Linked DNA regions of Homo sapiens: regions 2, 3, 4, 5 and 6 are each linked to region 1. Evidence: promoter capture Hi-C in 16 types of primary human blood cells and fetal thymus (Javierre and others, 2016). All regions are on one chromosome and are shown on one strand. Each heading gives the region's core, a stretch centred on a gene start or on the middle of the fragment in contact. The rest is flanking DNA. Distances are from core to core; before and after follow the strand shown. Region 1 holds the start of COL9A1 (collagen type IX alpha 1 chain). Region 2 has its middle 83 kb from the start of B3GAT2. Region 3 has its middle 38 kb from the start of B3GAT2. Region 4 has its middle 6.9 kb from the start of B3GAT2. Region 5 overlaps B3GAT2 (beta-1,3-glucuronyltransferase 2). Region 6 overlaps B3GAT2 (beta-1,3-glucuronyltransferase 2).

The links. Contacts are between HindIII fragments. The CHiCAGO score rates a contact against its expected background, and 5 or more counts as called.
Region 2: a contact is called between a fragment that was not itself captured here and the fragment with the promoter of COL9A1 in region 1, in 1 of 17 cell types (M2 macrophages). The highest score is 7.3, in M2 macrophages.
Region 3: a fragment that was not itself captured here is called in contact with the fragment with the promoter of COL9A1 in region 1 in 5 of 17 cell types (endothelial precursors, M2 macrophages, M1 macrophages and 2 more); the score reaches 9.6 in endothelial precursors.
Region 4: a contact is called between a fragment that was not itself captured here and the fragment with the promoter of COL9A1 in region 1, in 3 of 17 cell types (M2 macrophages, endothelial precursors and naive CD8 T cells). The highest score is 5.6, in M2 macrophages.
Region 5: a contact is called between a fragment that was not itself captured here and the fragment with the promoter of COL9A1 in region 1, in 1 of 17 cell types (endothelial precursors). The highest score is 5.3, in endothelial precursors.
Region 6: a contact is called between a fragment that was not itself captured here and the fragment with the promoter of COL9A1 in region 1, in 1 of 17 cell types (endothelial precursors). The highest score is 5.3, in endothelial precursors.

What each region holds. Positions count from the first base shown.
Region 1 is chr6:70,301,609-70,304,698 of GRCh38, reverse strand. It overlaps COL9A1 (collagen type IX alpha 1 chain), which reads left to right and starts at 1,615. Exons shown (of 38, transcript NM_001851.6): 1 at 1,615-1,788; 2 at 2,625-2,698. The coding sequence starts at 1,775. The HindIII fragment of the contact is 4,602 bases long and covers 1,327-3,090 here.
Region 2 is chr6:71,038,896-71,041,985 of GRCh38, reverse strand. No RefSeq gene overlaps it. Among named protein-coding and RNA genes, the nearest start is that of B3GAT2, 83 kb to the right of the region's middle. The HindIII fragment of the contact is 2,445 bases long and covers 263-2,707 here.
Region 3 is chr6:70,993,245-70,996,334 of GRCh38, reverse strand. No RefSeq gene overlaps it. Among named protein-coding and RNA genes, the nearest start is that of B3GAT2, 38 kb to the right of the region's middle. The HindIII fragment of the contact is 2,623 bases long and covers 138-2,760 here.
Region 4 is chr6:70,962,462-70,965,551 of GRCh38, reverse strand. No RefSeq gene overlaps it. Among named protein-coding and RNA genes, the nearest start is that of B3GAT2, 6.9 kb to the right of the region's middle. The HindIII fragment of the contact is 2,992 bases long and covers 6-2,997 here.
Region 5 is chr6:70,932,983-70,936,072 of GRCh38, reverse strand. The region is part of intron 1 of B3GAT2 (beta-1,3-glucuronyltransferase 2); the gene reads left to right. Among named protein-coding and RNA genes, the nearest start is that of B3GAT2, 23 kb to the left of the region's middle. The HindIII fragment of the contact is 380 bases long and covers 1,404-1,783 here.
Region 6 is chr6:70,905,260-70,908,349 of GRCh38, reverse strand. The region is part of intron 1 of B3GAT2 (beta-1,3-glucuronyltransferase 2); the gene reads left to right. Among named protein-coding and RNA genes, the nearest start is that of B3GAT2, 50 kb to the left of the region's middle. The HindIII fragment of the contact is 695 bases long and covers 1,239-1,933 here.

The DNA.
Region 1 (3,090 bases), core at 366-2,865:
AAGCCCCAAACAGCATGAGGAAATGGGTGTCCCTCTGGGAAAGAGAGACAGGACTCCAACAGGTGGGCTATGAGTAGAAAATAAAAGGGCAAAAGCATGGATATTAAGTTTGCCTGATTTACATTTCATCAGTGAGCTGGGGGAGGCAGAAACTGAAAGGACTTTTTTGGAAAAGAAATAAACAAATGAAAAATAAGAAGCAACGCTATTGTTTTGTAATTAAATAAAAATTAAATCAATTAGAAAACGAAATTTAAAAATTTCAAGAAGCCAGGTGCAGTGGTGCATGACTATCATCCCAGTTACTCAGGAGGCTGAGGTGGGAGAATCCCCTGAGCCCAGAAGTTCAAGGCTGTAGTGAGCTATGATTATGCCACTGTACTCCAGCTTGGGGGACAGAGCGAGACCTGAGACCCTGTCTCTTAAAAAAAAAAAGTTCACCTAAAAATTACTTTGCTTGTACTGTGATTTTTGAGATCATTGGATCTTCTGACCTTTAGAGTCTTGGTTTTTGGAGTAACCACCCGTGTCCCTCAAGACAAGGCCAGAGGTTGGCCATGCTGAGTGGGTGGTAACGGGGGTGATGTGGGGGCTATAGGGAATTCTCTTTAGGTGCTCAGGTTCTGGAGAGACGGCATGGCATGTGTGGTAGCGATGCTGATAACATGCCTCTCTCTAGGTTTGTGCTCCTTGTAATTTGCTCTCACCTTGTTAACGGAGGATAATATGTTGCTTCTTTCCAGATACAGTGTCCTCTGCTCAACTCTGGTAGTCTCAGAGTTTAAGAATAAACAACAAGTAGGGGGCTTGATGTTACATTTTATCAGGATTTCTATCCATGAGGTAGAGAGAGGGAATGTGTATTTAGTAATAGGCATGGCACTTTGAAAAAGTTACTTCATTTTCTGCTTCCTCAACTTTCTTATTTGGAGAATAAGGGTAACTTCAGTCTTACCTTATAATGTTGTTGTGAGAATTAAATGGCATTAAGCTTTGAGCATTTTCAACAGACGGAGGTGCATAATGAAGCGTTAGCTATGAAGACGATGACAAATAATGATTGTTGGGTGTTAGACCCTCTGCCTTTGATACCTCATTTAATTCTCAAAACCATTGTTTTAATGTAAGCATTTTCAATCTGTTTTACAGTTAGGGCATCTAGTTACAGAAAGGTGAAGTAACTCTCTCAAGGACACACAGCTAGTAAGCTTCAGAATAAACAGGGATTGAAACTTAGGTTGATCGGGCACCAAGGCTCCCACGAGTTTCCACACCTCTGCCTCCCAGTGGGCACATTTTTACTGGAACCTCAGCCCTCTGAAAGCTTCCACTGTATTCCTATAGCAGTTCTGAAAGCTGCCATTGTACTCCTATAGCAGATCTAAAAGCATCTACTGTGTTCCTATAGCACCTTGCCTGGATCTTTCTGGTGAATTTCCCCACATCCTGATTTTATTTTTTTCTTTTCAGCAAACTTTCCCCTGTAAATCCCTCCTTCAGTATAACCTTGTTAGCTTTGAGGACACACCCCTAGGCCTGGGCTCAGAGCGCTGCTTCTCCCCACCCCTTTCCTTTGCTTCAGTTTAAAGTGTCACGAGATGCCTCTGGTTCTCTCCCTTTGCTTTTAGCCCTCACCGGGGGCAGGAGGGACCAAGGCTGGGCCCAGAACACATAGTCCTAGGGTAACAGTGAAGGGGTCGTGAGGGGACAGTGACTCCCTTCCAACCCCTTCTTCATAGGGACTGTTGGCAAACAAAGAAAATCAACTGGGAAAATGAAGACCTGCTGGTAAGACAATAACCCTGGAAAGAGTGGTGGGGAGATGGAGCTGGGGGTCCTCAGAACCAAGGGTCTGTATTTTTGCAGCAGTGGTAAGATGAGAGTAGGTGAGCCTCAAGGTGAGAGACAGAAAGAGAGACGGATGAGAGAGTAAGACAAGAGGGCAAGCGTGAGAAACCGAAGACAGACACAAAAAACCGAAGACAGACAGAGGAAGGGAGAGAAAGTGACGGCCACAGAAAAAGAGAGGAAGGAAATCAAAGGTGAAAGAAACCAGAGACAAAGAAATAGGTACCAAAACAGTGAGATAGGTAGATACCGAGAAGGTGAGATCAATAAAACAACAACGACAGTGGGGTCTGGAAACATGAGTTCCTTACATCTCTCAGTAGGGTTTCAAAGTAAAAATGAAGGCTGGGTGCGGTGGCTTATGCTTGTAATCCCAGCACTTTGGGAGGCCGAGGCGGGCGAATCACGAGGTCAGGAGTTCAAGACCAGACTGACCACCATGGTGAAACCCTGTCTCCACTAAAAATAGAAAAAGTAACTGGGTGTGGTGGCACGTGCCTGTAATCCCAGTTACTCAGGAGGCTGAGGCAGGAGAATCGTTTGAACCCAGGAGGTGGAGGTTGCAAAGAGCCGAGATCGCGCCATTGCACTCCAGCCTGGGTGACAGAGCGAGACTCCGTCTCAAAAAAAAAAAAAAAAAAAAAAAGAAATGAAAAAAAAACTATACTGTGATTTGATCACCTTACATTAATTAGGTTTACTAGGTTTGAAAATATGGAAGTGTTTTCCATCTGCGGGGACTCCTGTTTCAGTCATTTTTCTTCTCTCTTCTTCAGGAAAATTCCAGTTTTCTTCTTTGTGTGCAGTTTCCTGGAACCCTGGGCATCTGCAGCTGTCAAGCGTCGCCCCAGTAAGGGCCATAGTTTCTAGACTTTCAAAGATCACTTATTCCCAGAAATGATCAGGCAGGGCTGTGGCTGACTGAAGACTGAGTGAGGCATTCATAGTCCTTCACACCCTCACTCTTCAATCCAGCTTTGGGGCACAGGGATACATTAGGTTCTGGTTTTCCATGGTCAATGCTGGGTATGGAAAGTAAGTCCTGTCAGTAATCACAGTTGGTAGGAAGGCCAATCTGTGAGCTGCAGTGCCTAGTGCAGTGCCTAGTACAGATGGTGATTGGTAAATGTTGGGTGAATACATGGATGAATGAATAAATAGACTGATGGATGGATGGACCTCAACAATTTGGGGTGAGGAGAGTATAAAGAGCATGTTTGATGTACCATTATGGTTAGGCCC
Region 2 (3,090 bases), core at 236-2,735, 740 kb before region 1:
TCATGTCTCCCTAAAATGTATAAAACCAAACTGTGTGCTGACCACCTTGGGCACATGTCATCAGGAACTCCTGAGGCTGTCACAGGCATGCGTCCTCAACCTTGGCAAAATAAACTCTAAATTCACTGAGACCTGTCTCAAATTTTGGGGGTTCACATCTTTCTCTAAGGTGGGCTTTCTGCATGCCCAGTGCTTTCCTTACCCTCTGGAATTGAGCACACGCCATGTGTTTAGGGAGCTATACGCATCACCATCTGAAGCTTTCTTCCCTTTTTCAGTGGAGTGTGCCCCCAGAAGATTATACTTCACCATTTTTGTCTCTTAACAGGATGCCCAGGAAGTTGCTTCTCCCTGGGACTGCATTCAATTAATGTTTTGATGTTGATAGGCGTGGACCATCAGGAAATGGCCTCTCCCTTGTGCTGCTGAATTATTATTTTTAGAGAGGCAAAGCAATAATTGCCCAACCATCACCCAACATTTCTAGTGGGTGAGGGAGAGAGCCCTCTCCTGCCCCACTCATGCCTAACTACCTATAACGCTACCTTCTCTAGATGGGGTTAAGTCTTGGACCTTAATTAATTACATCCCAGAAAGTGGCAACACCTGCAGGTGAAGTCCTTGATTCACTCCCTGGCTGGACGCCTGAATATAGGCAAATATTGATTTAATTTTTGTCAAAACTGGAAATCCTATAAACTGCAGACATTTATCCTATAAACTGTAGACATTTGTCCTATAAACTGTAAATAGATGATTTGGGAAGGCTTAGGAAAGGAAGTCCAAATGGCTAGGAAGTAGTACGGAGTCATAATAAGAACAAGTGTAAACTGGCTGGCCATATGTCCTGTGCAAATTGGGTTACTAGACTGATAAGGAAAGAATATATAGAACAAATCTTGTATCTGTGTAATTACAAGGGTCCCCAGAGACAGGACGGATGAATCTAAGTGTGGGGTAAAGAGCAAAGAGAAATAGGAACTAAGAAAGTCAGGGACAAGAGGGACACTAGTGAGGAGAGCCAAGACCACCTGGTGACCATCAAACAGATCATCTGGAGGCAAAACTCCTTATCTGGGAATTTAGAAGGGAACAAAGACCACCTGGTGACCATCAAACAGACCATCCAGAGGCAAAACTCCTTATCTGGGAATTTAGAAGCAATCAAATTTCCCTAGTTTCTAAAGTCAGCATGTGGTTCCAGGCCTCTTTCAACTTTTAGTTTAAAAGTAACTAAAATTTCTATACATCTCTGGAATGTCACGCTGAAACTCATTTTACAACCCTAAGCTCCTGCCTTAAGGTCCATAAATACCACTAAGGAAAAATCCACTGCGGTGCATTCAGTCCTCTTGCCAAAGCGCTCTACTGCACCCTCTTGCAGCATTCTTCCTTTCTAATAACTTTCCTTTTCAAACCTATTCTGTTGTCGGTAAATTCTTTTTACCAACCTGCGCGTCAACCACTTCCCAATACCAGGGCTCTGACACCTCTCCCGGCAACTAGTACAAGTGGAAGTGGCAGGGAAGACAAGAGAAACCTTAGCCCTGGAGGAAAGGAGGATAAGAACAACTCCCTTTGTGAAGAAGAGACCATGTGAACCCAGGAGGGTGCCCCACTCTCCCAGCTCAGAGGAGATGCTGCAGGAGTCTTACAGAATGGGGATGTCAGTACCAGTGCCCTGGCCTTGGGGCACACAGGGATCAGGATGCCAACCACACTGCAGGGAGAGAAGCAGCACAGGCAGAGACTGCAGGAGCCACCACAGCCCAAGGAGCTATGCAGCTGCTGAGCCAAGCTGCAGACAATGGAGCAATCAGCGCTGGTGCATGAAGCTCAAATTGGGTGCCCTTCAGCTTAAGAAAACAGAGTGCCTTTTCTTCTGTCAATGTTGTGAAGACCCACAGACTCATTTTTACTCCCTTAGATTTGTGGACAAACCTGTTAACTTGACTATTAGCTATTAACTTAGCTATTCAGCAGCGTGGGCTACAGGTTTCTGGAGTCCTTCTGACTGGGACTGAATCCCTGCTCCTCTGCTTATTAGTTCTGATGTGCACAAGTTTTATTCATCCATAAGATGGAGATAGTCAAACTGCCTTCCTAATAGGGGTGTTCAGAAGATTAATTGAGAATTATCCATGTAAAGTGATTAATAAATATTAGTTGTTATTAATACATTGGCTTAAGCCAGTGGTGCCTAGGGAAACCTTAACCAAGTCTCTCATGACATATTTGTGGACAAGATGGAGAAATGAGGAATAGGCATAAACACAATTTTGTGACTTGTAACTGGTTAAGTACCAAAGCAACAGAATGAAAATTAATGAGAGAATATCAGTCTGGAGAATTCCTGTGAATTACAAAAGACCTCCTGAGAGTCTTCAAATCGTTTCCCTACTGCAGGTCCTTGCTTTAATTCTAAGACAAAAAACTGACAAGCAATTCCACAGACCTTCATTTTTATATACTCCTAAAATTACTTAACAGTAACTTGCTAAATCAGTTATTGAAGATTCCTAAAATTTAATATTTACAATCTAACTAAAATTAGCCCATTACTAAAATTACCGAGGTAGCTATACAGCTCAACTTTCTCCAGGAAGCCCAGGAGCTAGATACTACTGAGCTATACTGCAGCACTCCTACCACCTGGGCACACATGCGACATCCAGAAACTGCATTGTTATCATTACATCATCAAGCTTAACATGAGCTGGTCAGAGTTTTTAAGTGCTGCTGTGCGTTACATTAACTTGTATATCACATTACATGTTAACCAATACTCCTCCATCCTCAATCACTTAATGAATATGCTCTTTATTTCCTGGCACTCAGAAGTGCCTGGATTTTTCCCAAGGAAGTAATCACCCTGCCCTGGGAGATTCCTTGAGTACAAGCTGCTCACTTTCCAACATCGCATGTGCCTTGGGTTCAGAAGATAGGGTGGGGATTTTGTTTTTGCTCCAGTGTCTCTCCCAGACCATGATTCATCCGTATTGAATAAAATTTTATGCAGGTTCCTTTGAGGCTCCTGCCTTCTGGCTCTACCATCCTGAACCCTCTCCATCCTCCCTCTAAGACTACGCC
Region 3 (3,090 bases), core at 200-2,699, 690 kb before region 1:
ATTGTCAATTACTTTGTACTATATCAGGATTTGGAAAACAGTTAATCAGGTTGGATTGCTAGGCAGCCTTGAATGTGCCTTTGATTTAATCACAAACACATGCTGCTGCATTCATCAATGTTCCCTTTATGTAAGCTTCTTCATTATTGTGATGCTTTACCTTTGGCCATAGCATGCCTGTTTGCTGATTTCCATGTCAGAGAAAAATGTTACATAACCGAAGTACTCACAGGAATGAGCACCAAAACTAAGGAGTAGAGTCAATGTAAAGATGTAACTTAGCAGAAAAGTTCAACTATTCCAAATCTATGAAATCTGTATTAGAAAATGTTATATGTCAAGAGATAGTAACAATGCCTGCATTCCACCAGGCCATACTTCTCTGGTTAAAGCAATACAATGGTTGAAGAAGTACAATGACAATATAAAAAGAAATTTCAAGGATGGGCTCAAAAAATGGAGCAAAGAACACTACAGGTATTGCATGAAGACACTAAAGGTAAGAAAACTATGGCAATATTATTTTATTATGGCCTTTATTTTTTTTAATTAAAGACTATTCTATTTTTTGTAAGTGAATTTAACAACAATGACTTTGTAGAATATCTGTGTATGAACTAGGAAGACTCACATAATTATTGGTTCTTCATGTCTCTCAGCTACTTCCAGCTGGAAATGTGAAAATGTGAAAGTTGTGTTGGCATTCATCAATGCAGCCAGTTCAGGAAATTCCTGGCACTTGTCCCTGTTTTTCTTGACACTTTTCTGGGTGTCACTTTCTATGTTTAAAATGGAGAGTTTGGACATCTAAAGCTATTTCCAACTCACCATTTGCAAATTTTGTAGCATTTTATATTTAACTCACTTATTATCTCTTATGAGCCCCATATTAAACTTTTGAGATAGGTCAGGAAGATATTCTTATCTTCATTTAACCCACGAAGAAACTGCTCTCCAGAAGCCACTGCCAAGCAAGTCATTCTAAGTTTCACTGCTAAAAACTAGACTGCTAGACAACCTACTACTTTGAAGAAGGCGTTTTTAAAAGTGCTATTTTTATTCAATGTGACATGCAGTATTATTGAAATGCAGATAAATTTTCAGTCAAACACTAAGATAAAGTAGCTTCTCTGTGACCAAGGATTTAACTTGATTAACTGGCAATTTCGAGTGTTTAAGGGTAGAAATTAGCAGCTTGACTGTGTAGGGCAATGGTTTAATATAAAAAAGGGAGCATTCAGAGAGAACACAAGAAGGTGTGTCTCTGGGAATGAAAGTACTTTATAACATCAGTGGACAGCCTAGAGCTATGTGAGTTTCTTCTTTCTCATTCAAATTCTTTCTTAGCAACCCTTCTCAAAAATAAAATAGAGTGGGGTGCAGTGGGTGGCACATGCTTGTTGTCCCAGCTACTCAGGAGGCTGAGGGAGGAGGATCCTTTGAGCCCAGGAATTTGAGGCCAGCTTGAGCAACATAAAGAATACAGTTCTTCATCCACGACTCTGTAGGGCCAGCCTCTAGAAATACTGCCACCAGTCTACCTATGACCTTGGAATTTCAGGGTCCAGAAACACAGAGATCCACCCTCAACTTTCCATTAGGGAAACAAGAAAAAGCTGGCCAGCTCCTGACACCACTGCCACTACCTGTAGTAATTAAAAACACATTTAAAAAATTTGTATACTTTTCCCTTCAAGCAGTAGAGCTTAATTCCCCTCTCCTTGAGAGTTCACTGGACTTAATGACTCTCTTACATAGAAATACAGCAGCCACAGGAAAAAATGAAATAAAATTCTGACACAGTTTGATCTCTCACTTTTATGCCAAAGCAGAAAGATTCATTTATTTCTTATTTATACTATTATAACATCATCCCCAATTTTTCAACTGTAATGTGATTTCAAAAATGAAGGCTGACTAGCTATGACAAGCCCACATTACAGTGACTCTGGCCCTTGAGTCTTCTGTGGCATCATAAATGTGAACTCAAAGTTATCTTCAAGGTAAAACCAGCTTAATTGTCCCATAGAACTGATGTTTATGGTTTATCTGAATAAACATAAAAATTGATCCTCCCAGTCTTAAAACTTGAGAAAGGTACAATTGTCTTATCTGAATTCCTTTCTCAGAAAACCAACCATCAGGCTTTCCAGATAATATCAAGGAACTGAAACACACCAGATCACTGCATCTGAACAATGTCATGCCAGACAGGTGGCAGACCCCTCACCCACCTGCCTCCTGTTGACCAACTTCTCTTCTTAGCCGCCTCTAATTCCTGTTTTCCCATACATGGTTACATTTCTTCCCTGCTAGATAAACCCCAATTTTAGTCATTCAGGAAGATGGATTTGAGACTGATCTCCATTTCCTCAGCTGCAGCACCTTACTAAAGCCTTCTTCCCTGGCAATACTTGTTAACTCAGTGATTGGCTTTCTATGTGTGAGCACCCCTAGACCGAACCCCTGGTGTTTTGGTAACAAAGGTAAGCTATAGGTGTAATAGGAGGCATAAGATTGATTTTTTTCTCCACAAACCAGAATGTATGTATGCAATTGAATTTTAGACCCTTCAAAGTAGGCATCATGGAGAGGATAGATCGTGCTGCTGAAGCTCAAAATATTTTTGGAAATGCCTTTAGAAAAAATTTGAAAGGCACAAAAGTTTGTCTCATTGTGGTCAGACAGTGCATATATACTTGTGTGTGCATGTGTGTGACTAAAAAAGATTTTTAGTGACTAAAAAAAATTGCCCAAGCTTGATTATTAACTATATGCACAAGAATTGACTTTGGGTACTCTTGGAAATAACTAAAATTCAATTCCATCTTTAAAAATAAAAATGTGATATTCAAGAGGAAGGTACTCAGCAAGTGCTAAGTGTTCAATATCATTATTCAATTGAAATAAATGTGATGTAGCCCCTTGAGAGTTAGAAAAATTCTCTCATACAGAATTCTCAGTCTCTTGCTTTCATCCTCCAGTATTTTGAGCCTTTTTTTTTTTTTTTTTTTTTTTGGAGATGGAGTCTGACTCTGTCGCCAGGCTGGAATGCAATGGCATGATGTCAGCTCACTGCAACCTCCACCT
Region 4 (3,090 bases), core at 252-2,751, 660 kb before region 1:
AAGCTTACTGAATACTTACTATATTATTTGATATAGTTTGGCTCTGTCCCCACCCAAAATCTCATCTTGAATTGTAATCCGAATTGTAATCCCCATGAGTTGGGGGTGGGACCTCATGGGAGATGATTAGATCATGGCGGCAGTTTCCCCATGCTGTTCTCATGATAGTGAGTGAATTCTCACAAGATCTGATGGTTTTATAAGGCACTTTCCCTGCTTCACTCTGCACTTCTCTCTCCTGCAACCATGTGAAGAAGAACATGTTTGCTTCCTGTTCTGTCATGATTGTTAAGTTTCCTGAGGCCTCCCCGGCCATGCATAAATGTGAGTCAATTAAACCTCTCTCCTTTATAAATTACCAGGTCTCATGTATTTCTTCATAGCAGCATGAGAATGCACTAATAGATTATTGTTCTAAGGATTTTACATGTATCAACTCATTTAATTACAACAACTTTAAATGCCGAAGTCACTTATGTTTAGAGATCTATTATCTATTCAACTCTTTCACATTTGTGGAAGACAGTTATAGTGGCAAGAATGTTGGCTTTGGAATAAAAAAATAGGATTGGATTCAAATTCTGTCTCTGACATTTAACTGGCTGTGTGACCTTAGAAAAGTTTCTTACTCTACCTACTTTTCAGGGTTATTGTATTTTAAAGTATGTTCAGTGCATTGAACAGACCCTGGTTCATGATCATTCATATACAGTGTCTCTTAGTTATAGGAGCATTATATTTATTTGACAGGTGAGGAAACAAGTTTAGATAGGTAACCAGTGAGTGGATACCTAGGATATGGACTCAGGTCTCCTGATTCCAATGCAACTCTTTTTCCCAGGTACCATGTTGCCACTCTCTTGACAAGACTGACCTGGATCTCAAGTAACTTCTAAAGACTGTAATAACTATGTCAGGTGGACAGCGTTTGCACACTTAGGTTTCTATGTTTTATTACCACCACTTTCTAAGTAATCAAGGCCTACCAGACCATATAGAGTGACACCCTGAGGCCTAGCTGCTGGACGTTATATTAGAATATGAATTTCATCTGGAATTTGAGGGCTTTTGTTTTTGGTTAGCTATAATGTGACTGTTAGAAATCATACTATAGTTTGGGAATGATGATTTTGCTAGCTTAATTGCATTTTATTTGAGTAGAATTCCAAGCACTTTTCTTTAAAAATAATGGACTCAATTTTTCAGACCTCGTGCTATTTCTGCTTCAGAACCAAACTTTCTTAATGGGCTCCTTTTCTGGGCATCCCTTAACCCAGTCAAGCTGACACATAAAATTAAGCATCCCACCCTTCTCTTTGTGTGGTTAAATTCCTAGGCTGGGGCTATAAATTGATAGAGGAATAAAGGAACAACCCCCCTTTTAACTTTAAGAGATTTATATTTCACATAGAACACCAAATATGTGCCTAAGCCAAGTCATACTTAACTTGGCACTCAAGAAGCAGAAATTAATAAATGTAGTCATTTCAATGGTCCACCTGCAGGCTCATAAATGCACCTGTTATAAAAATAATAAAAAAATTAATTCAAGCCACTGAACTACCACATTTAGACAAAAATGGAACTTAAAACATTGACAATGTTCCATTATTTTAATTATTATATTTTGGAGGTAGGTTGCTCATATAACATGTGTTTACCTACAGGAACTAGATTTACTTTTGAGAGAGTGGACAGGAGATACTTTCTTGTTTATGAAGATACACAAACCTTCTTTAATTATGTCTGCAGCTACTAGATAATATGCAACTGGTTATAAGATTTGGTAACACAATATGATATTAATAGTGTAATGCAAACCCATCAACAGAACTGGAAAAATATTCAAAGTACATTTCCTATGGAGTTTACCAAGAAACCACCTACACTCATTCATTCTACATACAAGAAAACTGAAGACCAGAGATCTGAGACTTGTCCAAGAGCTAGTCAGTAACTGGAACTTTCTATGGCCTTTATCTTATACCCACTCCCCATATTCATATTGTTTGCTCCCAATATTTGTACTCAACATATCCAAGAAAAGGCATCCAACTAAACCAACAGCCATTTGGAAAGAACATCTTTATTTAAGTAAACATAGATGGTTTGGATGCAGACCCTGCTTTCGCTAAAGTTTATTTTTAAAATTTGTACCCTCACCAATCTTCATACAGAAAAACTGTCTTGAGACAGGGTCTCTGTCACCCAGGCTGGAGTGCAGTGATGCCATCATATTTCACATATTTCATTATAGCCTCAAACTCCTGGGCTCAAGCGATCCTCCTGTCTCAGCCCCCCAAATAGCTGGGACTACAGCCATGCCCCAACACACCCAGCTAGTTTTGTTTTGTTTTGTTTTGTTTTGTTTTGTTTTGTAGATAGAGGGTCTTCCTATTTACCTAGGCTGGTGTCAAACTCCTGGCCTCAATTACAGGTGTGAGCCACTATACCCTGCCCAGGGGTTGTATCCTTGATCAAGATGTATCCTTGAGTGAATTACAGATAGATGTGATGAAAAGCTACATTAATTTTTAAATTTCATCTAAAATAGTAAAATGGCTTCATGATAAAATGACTGTAAATGCTTCTACTATCTTCTTGTGGAGGAAAGGCATGGTGACAGCAGTTTCTGATCTGGCTGCAGAGATGCCTGAGCCCACGGCCACCAATATGGCTTACGGTGGCCAGTACCAATCTGTTGGGGGTGACACATCTGGGCAAAACCCCAACTGGCACTACACTGGCCTTAAAAGCCATAGAGTGGGGTTAGATGATTCAACTAGTATTTACTGGGAAAGGAGGTTTTCCCGTGGCAGAAAGTTATGTCAGTTACGGAAGACAGTATTCACTTAGTAAGCCTTCTCTTTAGTCTCCTCCGTCAAGCCTGTTGCCTGCTTAGGCCTCTCGAGTACTGCTTAGGCCTCTCGAGTACCGTCAATCATACCATAGAGTCTGGATTTGAAATCCCACCCATCAATGTTTCACTTTGAAGCTTTGAGGAAGCTGATGAGTTCTGTACTCAGTGTTCTTCACCTATTCCTTTGTTCCCATGCATGCGTGTGCACACAAACACCTGTTGGTTTCATC
Region 5 (3,090 bases), core at 344-2,843, 630 kb before region 1:
ATTTGCTTGGTAGATCTTCCTCCATCCTTTTATTTTGAGCCTATGTGTGTCTCTGCACGTGAGATGGGTTTCCTGAATACAGCACACTGATGGGTCTTGACTCTTTATCCAATTTGCCAGTCTGTGTCTTTTAATTGGAGCATTTAGTCCATTTACATTTAAAGTTAATATTGTTATGTGTGAATTTGATCCTGTCATTATGATGTTAGCTGGTTATTTTGCTCGTTAGTTGATGCAGTTTCTTCCTAGCCTTGATGGTCTTTACGTTTTGGCATGATTTTGCAGTGGCTGGTACCGGTTGTGCCTTTCCATGTTTAGTGCTTCCTTCAGGAGCTCTTGTAAGGCAGGCCTGGTGGTGACAAATTCTCTCAGCATTTGCTTGTCTGTAGAGTATTTTATTTCTCCTTCACTTACATTTTAAAAATCATTTTAAACTGTTGCAAAACTTTTGATTTCCAGTGCATTATAAATGTTGACATTTGTAATGAAATTTAAATATATCCAGTAGATCTATAAATATTGTTAACAGTTTGATACCCACCACCATTCATTTAATAAACATACTTTTCAATGACATTTGGATGGAGATATATATATACACATATATATATTTTTAAGTGAGACAGGGTCTCTCTCTGTTGCCCAGACTGGAGTGTAGTGGTGCGATCACAGCTTACTGCAGCCTCCACCTCCCTGGGTCAAGCAATTCTCCTGCCTCACCCTCCTGAGTAGCTGGGACTACAGGCACATGCCACCATACCTGGCTAATTTTTATTTTTATTTTTTTTTGGTAGAGACAGGGTCCTCCTATGTTTCCCTGGCTGGTCTCAAGCTCCTGGCTTCAAGCAGTCCTACCGCCTCATCTTTCCAAAGTACTGGTATTACTGGTGTGAGCCACCACACCTGGCCACGTTTGGATATTTTATATTGCTCTTTTTTTTTTCTATCTTCATTCCTCCTCAGAATTTTATCTTAGCATAATATTTTGAGGTTCAAAGTCATCTCCCTATTACACATATCTACAATGACAAAAAGAATATAGATAGAATTTAAAGTTTTATAATCCTGTGGCTATCAGCCTCTGTCTTAGAAAAGCTTCAGGACTGACTTACCATTACAATTAGTATTGGTAAACAATTAATCAAAACAACAATAAATGTTACAGGGTTGGGTAATTAACTATTAAACATAAAAGCTACATTTATTAGATTTCTTAGTGACATGGATGGAGCATTTTGTTGTTGATTATATATTCTGTATTGACAAATATTACAGATTGCTAGAGATAGAATTTAGTATAAATTTCATTCCTATTAGGTCAACTTTTTTTTACGTAAAGAAGTAATTAAGGTGGGAATCATTTTCTTACAGCAGTGTTTCTCAGTTTTTTGAACTCTCAAGCTTTAAGCCAAAAATTACATGGTGATCTGACAGCAAAAACTATTTTAATGATTTATTAATGATATTAGGTCACCTCCAGTTTTGTTGAATGCAAATAGTTAGAAACCTCTGGTTGCCCCAAAGGATTTATTACCCATTCATTAGAGACATTGGCTTTCTTAATAAAGATAGCAATATTTCTGATTACCTTTGTTTGGTGCCCTGGAGGTTATATTAGGTGGGACAGTGCATTTAATAACAATACAGGATGGGTGAGCAGTCAGGCCCTTTGTGAAGTGGGAGAAGGGTGATGTGAAGTGGGGTGGGGCGGGGGTGGGGGGCAGAGCGAGAGAGAAGCATGGAGAACCTGCCCCTATCCAAGTGGATCAGTTTTAGGAAAGCTTATGCCGTATGTAGGGATGCCAAGGGTCTGGGAATTTATTCCCTAACTTAAAGTTATCTGCATTCACATATTCCATGGAGAGTTGTATGCATTCAGGTATCATGCACTCCCAGTCTGAAAAACTGCTCTTTTGGTTGAAAGAGTATAAGGACTTGGAAGATGGGGCCTCTAGGCCTGACTGAGCCAAAGGCTCCCATGACCTCAAGGGAACTGACTAGTGCTTTTTTCATTTTTTACTGCGTTCTGGGTCCCACCCTTGGCATTCAGATGTGTGCATGAGCTGCTGTTTAATTTTCATCATCTGCTTTACAAATGAGGAAAAGCCCTGATATCCAGCTCCCTCATAGGACCTGATAATAATACATATGGTTCTGAGAATTAAACGAGGTAATAGGTACGTAAAGTGGGTAAACAGAGTAACTTCACTCTCTATTTGTACGTCTCTCAGAAGTCTGGGGCAACAGGAGCTGTGGAAGGCTCCAGAAGACAAGATGTCACAAAGCCACCTAGCTACTGTGGCTGTACCAATCCTGACAGTCATAGCGGCCCCAAGGTGCTGCTCTGTTGGCTGATGGGAATGCAGATTTACGTATGGTCCATATATGGACGTGTTGTTTTACATCTAAATAAACTTGGCATTGCAAGATGAAAATGCCAGTATCATTTTTAAAGGTCAAGTGACAGTTTGGGAAGATTTTTATAACTTTGATAAGTTCCTCAGCTACATCTGTTCACACTGGCAAGAGTGCTAGAGACATTCTTGGGAAGTCTTTTCTATCAGAGGAGCTGCAGCCTTGCTCTGCAGAAAAGTTCTGATGACAGTCATCAGAGTATTTGGGGCTCATGCACTAACTGTTAATTATTTTCATTTTTCATTAATGAAAATTTATTTTAATTTTTTTCATTCTTCTTTAATGAATTTAACTATTTGCCTCTACCTTTGCTTCCTGCTTTGTATACTGATAAGACAGGTTTTGGGGTTTTTATGTTTTCTGGTCTTGCTTTTCCCCTTTGTTTTAGGATTTAAAAAACAAAAAGGTTAAGAGGGTAGGTTGACAGTGCTTGCAGTTTCTGTTTTACAGCAATCCCAGCTGTTCCTCTGAAAATTGGTTGATTGTCCTATAGTTTAAAATATATAGATGTTCATTTGATTGGCTCTTGTAAATCTAGTGACATTTAAAAGTACATGGCAGCTAGTCATGGTGGCTCACACTTATAATCCCAGCACTTTGGGAGGCTCAGGCAGGAGGATGGCTTAGCCCAGGAGTTCGAGACCAGCTTGGGTAACATCATGAGACCCCAACTCT
Region 6 (3,090 bases), core at 337-2,836, 600 kb before region 1:
CTATTTAGTCAAAGATGGCCAAGATGGAAAGCTTCCACTTTCCTGTGAGTCAGGTCCTAGTAAATGTGAATCTTACACAGAGATGATTAGTTATAGCTCCTAGCACTAACTCCCTGGAGGCAATGTCCTTGGTGCCCCTGACTCTCTTCCATTTAGGCACTCATCTTTGTTAGATGCCTTAGGTTTATTTACGTAAAATCATGCTGCACTTCTCCCTGATACTGTGGTTAAAGTTTTTATGGCCTTGCACCAAACCAACAGCCCAGAATAGCTACATGCCAGGGAGATATTGTCAGCAAGGTTTGGGCATTAATATGAAGAATCTTGTATATTGTTGAAACTTCTGGTCCAACAGAATGGAAAGTGTGCCAAATAGGAAGCTTTTGGGTACAGGTGACAAAAACCCCAACTCAAACTGGCTTCAACGCTAAGCACATATATTATCTCACTATATTAGCAGAATAACTAAATATTGGCAGCTGCAGAGGCAAACCCTGACTACTGAGAGGCTTGATACAGTAAAAGCTTATTGCTTGGTCTCACAAAGTTTGCCAGGGGTTGGTGACTCTCCTGGGCAGTTAGTGACTCAGATATGTCGCTTTATAAGCAACACATGACTTGTAAAGTCACCCCTGCAAGGGAAGAGGACTGGTGGATCACATAGATTGTTTTTAAGGACCAGGCTGGAAATTGACTTATATGAATTTTGCCCATGCTCCAGTGTGCATAAATCCGTCATCAGTCATATGACCCCATCCTAACTGCAAAGGATGCAGAAACATGGAGTCTTCCTGTGAACTTAGGAAGAGGAAAAGTGTTGAGCAAGAAGCCACATTCCATAACAGGAAGTCCAGATATACAGCAGGTTTTAGGGATGGATGACTTAGTGACTCAGTGGTGTCATCACCGTCCTGAAGTCTTTCCAATGCTCTCCACCCTGCCGTCCTCACAATGTCAGCTTTGTCTTCAGGCTGGTTCTCTTCCTGGTTGCAAGGTGGCTGCTGTAGTTCAGCCATCACAACCAGACATGGCAATGTGCTGGGACAGAAAGGGACCATCCTTAGGAGTGAGGGCACTTTTCCCAGAAGCAGCCCAGCACACTTCCTCTGATGGCCAGGACTGCCAGGCCCAAACTAATCACTGACAACTCAAGATTTATCCCTGGCATTGAGAGACCATCACCCTCTTGGCAGTCATGTGGGGGAAGGGCTGGTTACCATTTGAACCAAAATGAAGCTTAGCCAATAAGGAAGAGAAGAAAGTAGATGTTGAGTAGGCAACGAACAGTATCTGCTATAGCCCATCCCTGGACTCGCTGAGGTTTCATGGTAAAGTTTGTGGTTTTCATCATGTTCCTGCACCATTCTCAGTAAGTTGATGCCTAGCATTGCATATTTTCTTTTGCTATTGTAATGCTGTTTCCATGATAGTTGCTTGTGTATAGGATTGTCATTGATTTTTCACTCACCTTTGTTCAGTTTTCTTTTATCTATGTGTCTGTGTAATTGCCTTAAATTCTTTTTTCAAGCAGTATTAGATGTTAATTAGAGACTGAGAAACCCAGAGGTGGAAGGATCTTAAGTGGAGCAGGGGATCGGATTAAAGAATAAGAAAGCAAAGAATACTGTATTTCATTTCTGTGAAAAGAGAGGTTACATTTCCTTGCATGAGGAAAAAGTAGGAGTGTGTGCTTTTCTCAAAACTTGCTATAAGGCTGGGTGCAGTGGCTCATGCCTATAATCAGCACTTTAGGTGGCCAAGGCAGGAGGATTGCTTGAGCCCAGGAGTTTGAGACCAGCCTGGGAAATCTAGTAAAGCCCTGTATCTACAAAAAATAAAAAATTAGCTGAGAGTGGTGGTGCACGCCTGCAGTCCCCAGCTAGCTGGGAGGCTGAGGCAGGAGGATTGCTTGAGCCCAGGAGGAGGTCAAGCTTGCAGTGAGCTGTGATCATGCCACTGAACTCCAGTCTGGGTGACAGAGTGAGACTCTGTCTTAAAAAAAAATTGCTATGAGAGAATGCTCTAGGTATGTGTGTGGTCGTGGTAGAGTATAGGGGTGTACGATCACTGTAATGTGCTGGAATAGTACCTAATTTTGAAACTGCATGGTTAATAACATCTTTTAAGAATGTCTAAGTGCTTTAGAGACTTCTTTTCCCCCATTCTCCGTGAGAAGAATAGGAGATAGATCGTTGGTTTTCGTGTGGAAAAATTAAGAAAGAGAAATGAAGCAGTTTAAATTTCCTCACATTATCATGGTATTAAGTAAACTAGAGCAGAGGTCTTTGGGTTAGAACTCATTTGGGAAAATAGATTGAGTGTGGCCAAGGCAACCATTCCTGTAGTGAACTCAGCTCCCTTTTATGTAGTGAAGATAAATAGTTGAACAATCCAATACATGCCCCAGTCCCTCTCTCTCTACACACACTGCACACACACACACATACACACACACACACACACAGTGCCAGGAGACATTCCGGGACCATATTTTTTTAAGAAGAAAAAGTATTATTATGCTTTCAAGTCAGTTATGTTAATTTATTCCTTTTTTGAGATGTAGAGTAGCTCCTTTGTATCTGAGTTTGCCTATTACATGAAAAGACTAGTGGATAATGATACCAGCTATCCTATGTTACAAAAAGCTGCAGATCCCCATGCCAAGTGGACTATACAGCTACACAAACCTTCTGTTACCTGTTGGACACACTGCCACAGAGGCGAGCAACATGCTGTCTGCCATTAAAGAACTCGGGACCCTTGAAACCCATTTTGGGGAATATATGTAGCAAATAATCCAATTTTAAAAGGGGCAAAAACGTAGGTTATCGGAGTACATTAGACATGCTAATCTGCAGCAGTTTTGTGCAAACCTAAGTATAATTTAATTTTGTATTAAGTTTTCCTTTTGATATCCAGATAAAGATTAACATAGTCATTGGCAATTATATTTGTATTTTCAATAAACATCACATTTTACTGAAGTATACAGATCTATGCAAGGGATAGTGAAATAGACAAAGCTCATTTGACTTTTCCAGAAGGAATGCATTTTAACATTGGTGGCTCCTGTGGTTAGGGGGACTTCCA